2 separate regions of the Homo sapiens genome follow, and region 2 is linked to region 1. The links are contacts of gene promoters, found by promoter capture Hi-C in blood cells and fetal thymus (Javierre and others, 2016). All regions are on one chromosome and are shown on one strand. Each heading gives the region's core, a stretch centred on a gene start or on the middle of the fragment in contact. The rest is flanking DNA. Distances are from core to core; before and after follow the strand shown. Region 1 holds the start of HERC1 (HECT and RLD domain containing E3 ubiquitin protein ligase family member 1). Region 2 has its middle 26 kb from the start of MIR422A.

Region 1 (3,509 bases), core at 694-3,193:
CTTGATTGGTCTTTAAAGTAAGCAGTCCTTTTCTTGAAATAGAATGGGCAAAACCAGGCTGGGCACGGTGGCTCACCCCTGTAATCCCAGCACTTTGGGAGGCCAAGGCGGTCGGATCACAAGGTCAGGAGTTCGAGACCAGCCTGGCCAATATGGTGGAACCCCATCTCTACTAAAAATACAAAAATTAGCCAGGCATGGTGGCACACACCTGTAATCCCACCTACTTGGGAGGCTGAGGCAGGAGAATCGCTTAAACCTGGGAGGCGGAGGTTGCAGTGAGCCAAGATGGTGCCATTGCACTCTAGCCTGGGCAACAAGAGCAAAACTCCATCTCAAAAAAAAGAAAAAGAAAAAGTGGGCAAAACCAGTACAATTTTACAAATTCAAGAAAGACAGAATATCATATTTGTGAGTGACGTAGATGACATCAACAAGTTAAAAGGAGGAGCTTTTGCTTGTTGTTTTTGAGTATGCTTCACACACAATACCCAGATCATAAAGCACTAGCAACAATGACATCACTCCTCATGTAGCTACTCCCTTACATCATTTACCAGAAATACACATTTTATACATAGAAACTTAAAAGCTACACACCTAAGACCCATCATTTAATGAGTACTTAATATGTGCCGTATGTGAGCTTTACATATATTTTACTCCTCAGAGGAACCTTGTGATAACAAGAACTGGCATTATAAATTGACACATAAGGAACTGAGGTTCAGAGAGGTCAAGCAACTTGCCCAAGGTCACACACCTGGGGTAAGTGGGATTCCAGAATTCCCACCAGTGTCTGACAGTGAAGCACATGGCTCCTAACTCTTGGACTAAACTGCCTCATGTGACACACAAACATGTATCTAATTTAACCATGGGAAAGCACTCCCTCGTCTGTCTATACCGTAATTTCTTACATTAGTGACACATTCATGGCTTGTATGTTTGTGTGCTTCTCCTACGCCTCCAATTGGATTGCAAACTTCTGGAACGCAGAGGCCAACTCTATTTTTTGTCCCCAAGTCATCGGTCAGTTTAATTGATGCTCGTTAGAATATCTGGAAGGAAAGACACCATGAAGGTGGCTGGAAAGGAGTAAAACCAGGTACAGAAGGAGGAAGATGGAGATGGGGTATTCACTCAACAATTTAATGTCCACTTGGACCTATGTTAGGCGCTGGAGATATGGTGAGGACTGAGCCAGTCTGTGTCCTTCCCCTCATGGGGTTTCACGTGGAGGTCGAGGTCATGATCAAGGATGTAAGTCACCCAAAGGACACTACTGTGTTCCCAAGCAGAAAAGAAAACCGAGGAGCCAGGCCCTGGCATCTGCAGGGTTCTGGCAGTCCCATAAGGCGCAAAGACATGAACAAGGTGGAAGAGTAGGTCAAGTGAAACGCTTTTATGTGATTGAACTTAGCCGGCCGGAGGGCCGGGGCCGCTGCGATGAGAGATAAAGAGCGTGGGGCGCCGGGTGCGAGGCGGAGATAAAGGGGTGAGGCCCTGGCCCTGCCGCCGGCCGTAACACGTGTCCCTTCGCCTGGCGGCGGGGTCTTCCCTGCCCACCACGAGGAAAAGGGGGCGCACTGCATGGCCCCCCACTCCTCACCACCCTTTGTGAAACGCCCCCAATTGTGCTTCATCTGTGGAGTCAGGTCCCCGCAGGCGGTCGGGGCTGCCCGGATTCCGCGACGGCTGAAGGGTGAGGGCCGCGCGGTAGCAAAGTGTCCCCAGCACCTAGCTTGGCTCCCCTCGCTCCCAAATCCCTTTCCCCTTTTCGCTCAACCCCCAACTCCACCTCAGCCGCCTTCCTCTCGGTTCCCCTTTCACCTCCCGCGCTGGGCCTGTTGGGCGGGGCGAGGGCTCCCGGCTGCGCGAGAGTTCCGCCCAAATCTCGTGAGACTCGCCTGACGCCGCCGCTGCTGCCGCCGCCTCTTACGTCTTTCCCTTTGACAAGTCGCTGCTGCTGCAGCAAAAATAAAGGACGCGACCGCCGCAGCCTCTGCGGAGCCGGGCTCGGGTCGCCGGAGCCGCGCCCCACCCCGCCAGCTCCAGAGCCACGTACGGTAACGCATCATCTACCGTCCTCCTGGTCCTGTGTGTGTGTGTGTGTGTGTGTGTGTGTGTGTGTGTGCGCGCGCGCGTGTGTGCTTTGCCGGCCGCGCAGGGCCGGCCGGGGCCGTTTCGGGACTGCAGCCGAGCGGGGCTGCTGGGGTCCCGGGTGGGCGGCAGGCGAGCTGGGGGAGCCCTCCTGGCGCGCCGCGGATCCCCCGGGTCCCCGGCTCTAGAGGCCTCCTGCCGCCCGGGCGCCTCGGAGCAGCGTAGAAGCCGAGGCGCCCGCGGAGAGGGCCGAGAGACCCGCCCCTCCAGCGGCTTACAACGTCTGTGCCCCGGCCCCGCTGTGGTCGCGTCTCTTTCTGCTTCATTCCTTTATCTGCTGACCAGCTCCTCTGCCCCGGCTGGGGCTCGGTCCGCGGGCGGCGGCCGACTCCCTCTCAGGGTCCGGGGAGTGCCGCGACCCCGGTGTCCCCAGGCGCCGGCCGCCTTTAGCGGGGTGGAGGCTGGGACGACGTGTCTTCCTCCTCTCCTCTGCCTTTGGGTGAGGGCAGCTCATCATCTGCTAAACCTTTCTCCAAATCTCCCGCCCCAATAAAACAACAAATTATAAAGCCTTTGCAACCGGGAGGCGAGGCGGGGCGCATTGTTTAGTCTTAAGCGTGAGATGAGGATGATGATGGTGATGACAGGAGCTACCCCGGGGAACATGGTGAAATCTGTTCTGTGATGGGTGGCAGGTTACTGGGAGACACGAGGAGGACAGGAGCTTGTACCACCTCTCCCAGGAGGTTATGTAAAAGACATGTTATCTTAGAGAGCTGTGAAACACAGGGACAGATTTGTCTTAGTTTAAGAAATGTCTATAATACTTAGAATATAGAGATAATTAAATGATGGGAATAACAAATCTGAACAAACTAACCCATCTTTGTAATTCCATCTCCAGAGGTGGCATTTCATGGTTAACATTTTATTGTATTTCCTAACAGACACATTTTTTTTTATCCTTGCTTGGGACTTCCTCATTCTATATTTGTTCCAAAAATGATTTATTTTATTTGAATCAGTTCTCTGGCCTGCTTGATTAAAACTGGCTGCTAGTTCATTATCACTGGCTGAACTCTGCCATCACTATCTTTTTCACTGGGCCCTTTTCCAAAATGATTGTTAGCTAAGTGGTTTGAAAAATCAAACGTTAAAACATTGTCTGTTTGGGTCTAGTACCTATGTATATATTATATTTTTACAATTCTGTTAGTGGTGGTTGCTCAAAATGGGGCAGTATTTGTAGAAGGGAAAGAAACTATGATTATTCATAGTGGGAAGAAACCTATTTACCTCAGGTTTTATGAAATTGATTTCTACTGGATATTTTTAGACCAAAATTGTTCTGTGACATTGTTTCATAGTGCCTGTTGTGATTAGTGTGGGATGAGTATGTCTCTTTG
Region 2 (3,248 bases), core at 323-2,822, 63 kb before region 1:
GAGGCGAGAGGACTGCTTGGGTCCAGGAGTTGGAGGCTACATTGCAAACTATGATTGTATCTGTGAATAGTCACTGCAGTGAGACCTGTCTCTTAAAGAAAGACAAAAAGGAAAAGAAAGCTGTGAACAGAGCAGTTGGTACTCAATTCGTCTTTAAAAAAAAAAATCAATGGTGGGCCAGGCGCGGTGGCTCACACCTGTAATCCCATCACTTTGGGAGGCTGAGGCAGGTGGATCACCTGAGGTCGGGAGTTCGAGACCAGCCTGGCCAATATGGTGAAACCCTGTTTCTAATAAAAATACAAAAATTAGCTGGGCATGCTGGTGGGCACTGTAATCCCAGCTACTTGGGAAGCTGAGGCAGGTGACTCGCTTGAACCCGGGAGGCAGAGGTTGCAGTGAGCCAACATGGCACCATTGCACTCCAGCCTGGGAAACAATAGTGAAACTCCATCTCAAAAAAAAAAAGAGACCAAGAAGCATGACATGAGGGGCGCATGGGAGAAGCTGCGGTTTCTAACTCTGGGAATCTGGAGGACTATATGAACAAGGTGGACTTTAATTTGGCCTTAAAGGATGGGTGCTAAGAGAAGGGACAGGAAGTTATGGGTTAGTATTCTGATTGCTTGTCCTTACGCCTTCTCGTGGCTGAACTTTGGAAAGCTACCAATTAAATGAAAGAATGAGACTTCTGCGGGTTAACTGCACGGTGGTGAATTAGTAGTTCTACCATTTTCCCCTTCTCTGTCCATTGTGACCCTGGTTCTTGGTCAGAGACCAGAGGGCCCTGTCGGAGAGCCAGTGGCCATCTGTTGGGGTTGGCAGAGGCATTCAAGGTCAGGCATACGGGACAGATCTGATTCTTCCTGAGTCCTCTGGAGGAGTCTGTGTGTGTGTGTGTGTGTGTGTGTGTGTGTGTGTGTGTGTGTGTGTCTGGCTGTATTCGGGTAACTGTGTGTTTCTGGGCATACCTAGGCACCCGTTGTGGACATGTCTCTGTGGGGTGTGTGGACGTGTGTGGATGTGTCTGGGTGTTTGTGTGTGTGGATGTCTTTGTGTGTGTATCTGACTGTCCGGGGGCCTGTGTGTGCATGTGTGTGTTGGGTGTCTGTGCATGTCCGCGTGTCTGCGTTTGGGGTACGTTTGGGTATCAGTGTGTGCACATCTGTCTCTGTAGTGGATGTGTCTGTGTGTGTGTGTGTGCATCTGAGTGTGTGTCTGGGTGAATGTGTGTTGTCCAAAAGGACTCATGGAGAAAGCGCCTCCTGGGCCCAGGCTTTGCAGAATCTATTCTGCTGTCAGACCTCTGAGGCAGGTCAGAGTGACATTCTGGGCGATGTGGTTGAGGACAGCCGCATCTGCTGAGTCATAAGGATGTGGGCCCTGTGTGTTCACAGTTGGACATATCGCCTTTCACACCCACGGAGGGGAAATTTCAGCCAGGCTGGCTGACCCTGCATTCTTTCAGAAGGTCATGACCTCAAGTAGCCCAGGGAAGGAGAGGAAACAGGAATGCTCGTAAGACCTAGAGGTTGGCAGAAGGTGAACTGAGACCCAGGTGTTCCCCAGCTGGGTCCGCTGGGTCGTGGCTTTCTCAGGCCTTTCCAATAACTAAGCTGAGGGCTTTGGAACTGATGGGACACTTCCTGGTGGGGGAGGAAGCCCGGGCAGATTTTCTTAAATGATACAAACTGCCAAGCTCACCAAACTTTCACAATCGATGCTGACCCTGGAAAGCCCCACAAAGCCATAAGAGTCTAGACTCTGGAAAATCCTTCTCCTTCCTCTCCAAATCAACCAATCAGCAAATAAACACCACTACACATAGTATGCTTAGCTGCCATGCAATCAAGCGAGGCTTTCACGCTTATCGGATTTAAACAGTAACGTTTCCCCAGGGATGGCAGGGGCAGAAAGCCTCAGTCCCAGGCTTCTTGGTTGGAATGGGTTTCACAGGTTCTTTCCTAATATCAGATGGGGAGGGGTGAGGAGGGCATTTGCCCGCTGGAGCACACCTGGGAGAGCACCACTTGTGAGGGAAGGGTTCCAGCAGGACATCGATGGGAAACGCACATCAGGAAATGAACATCTGAGCATTTACATGCACCCAGCATGGGGAAGGCACTGGAGAATATTCTGCAGGAGGATATTCCTGTTCCTAAGGAGCCCGAGCTGGGAGCGCACCTGTGGATATTCAGCTTGCCCATAGATGAGCTGCTTCCCCTGGCCACGTGAGATATGGATGAGGTAAGGAAAGGCGATGTGAGTACATCGAGGTGGGGTTGGTCCTTCGGGGGAGGCGGTGATCAGAGGAAGGCAGGGAGGCTGGCCTGGAGCAGGAGGGTGTCACCACTGGTCACTCCTTGTATTCAGACAGTGAAGGCCACTGACAAAATGTCACACTTGCTGTGACCACTGGTCTCCAGTAAGGTCCAGCCAGCCTGTGGGGCCTTGTGGGTCTGGCATGCTGGGCAGCGGGTTTGATGGGGGGGTGTCAGGTTCTCCTGGGGAGAGAGGGCCCCAGGAGGGACATTGAGGTAGTCAGTACTTGGTCTAAGCAGGGGTTTCAGAGACTTTGTAGATGCTCGTCCAACACCACTGAAGATGCCCAGGGGCGACAGGGAGCTCAGGATCTCTTGGCAGGACCCTTAAGGGCTGGTGTCAAACTGTTCAGGTTGTTACAAGTTCTTTCTCAGGTTAAGCTCAAGTTTGCCTCCCCGCAGATCCATCCATTGTCCTGGTTCTGTCTTCTGGGGTCATATCTATTTAGCAAATATAGAGACAAAGATGGGAAAAGATAGTTCATGTCCTCAAGGAATCCACAGTGCAGTGACAAGGATGAAATAGGCGCTAAGCTGGGAGCTGAGGAAGGAGTCCTGTGTTCCGAGGGATGGGGGCCCAGGCAGGCCTCCAGAGGAAGTAGCCTTTGAGTGCGCTTCACAGATAAGAGGATTCACATGGGTGGAGGGGGCTGCAGAGTCCAGGCCAGGAACAGCTTGAGCAAAGACACAGAGGTAGGAGAGAGCAAGGTATCCCCTGGGGACGCGGGGCACCCTGTTGGGGTGGGGCCTGCTGCGGTGGGGAAGGGGGCTAGATAAAGAGGGGCTTCAACCCAGGCTTAGGCCTTTATTCAGCAAGCTATGGGGAGGGTTGAGAGGTTTCGTGAGACTTTATCAGAGCTGTGGCTAAGATCAGGGGTTCTCAAAGTGTGGTCCCTGGCCAGCAGCATTAGGGTCATCTGGGAACTT

Evidence for each region. The method cuts DNA at HindIII sites, captures the fragments that hold promoters and counts their contacts. A CHiCAGO score of 5 or more calls a contact.
Region 2: a fragment that was not itself captured here is called in contact with the fragment with the promoter of HERC1 in region 1 in 2 of 17 cell types (megakaryocytes and erythroblasts); the score reaches 7.8 in megakaryocytes.

What each region holds. Positions count from the first base shown.
Region 1 is chr15:63,832,382-63,835,890 of GRCh38, reverse strand. HERC1 (HECT and RLD domain containing E3 ubiquitin protein ligase family member 1) reads left to right here and starts at 1,943. Exons shown (of 78, transcript NM_003922.4): 1 at 1,943-2,064. RefSeq lists enhancers at 1,755-1,884, 1,058-1,921, 1,922-2,787 and a silencer at 2,125-2,554. The HindIII fragment of the contact is 17,710 bases long and covers 1-3,509 here.
Region 2 is chr15:63,895,105-63,898,352 of GRCh38, reverse strand. No RefSeq gene overlaps it. Among named protein-coding and RNA genes, the nearest start is that of MIR422A, 26 kb to the right of the region's middle. RefSeq lists enhancers at 1,245-1,294, 1,495-1,544. The HindIII fragment of the contact is 5,326 bases long and covers 1-3,248 here.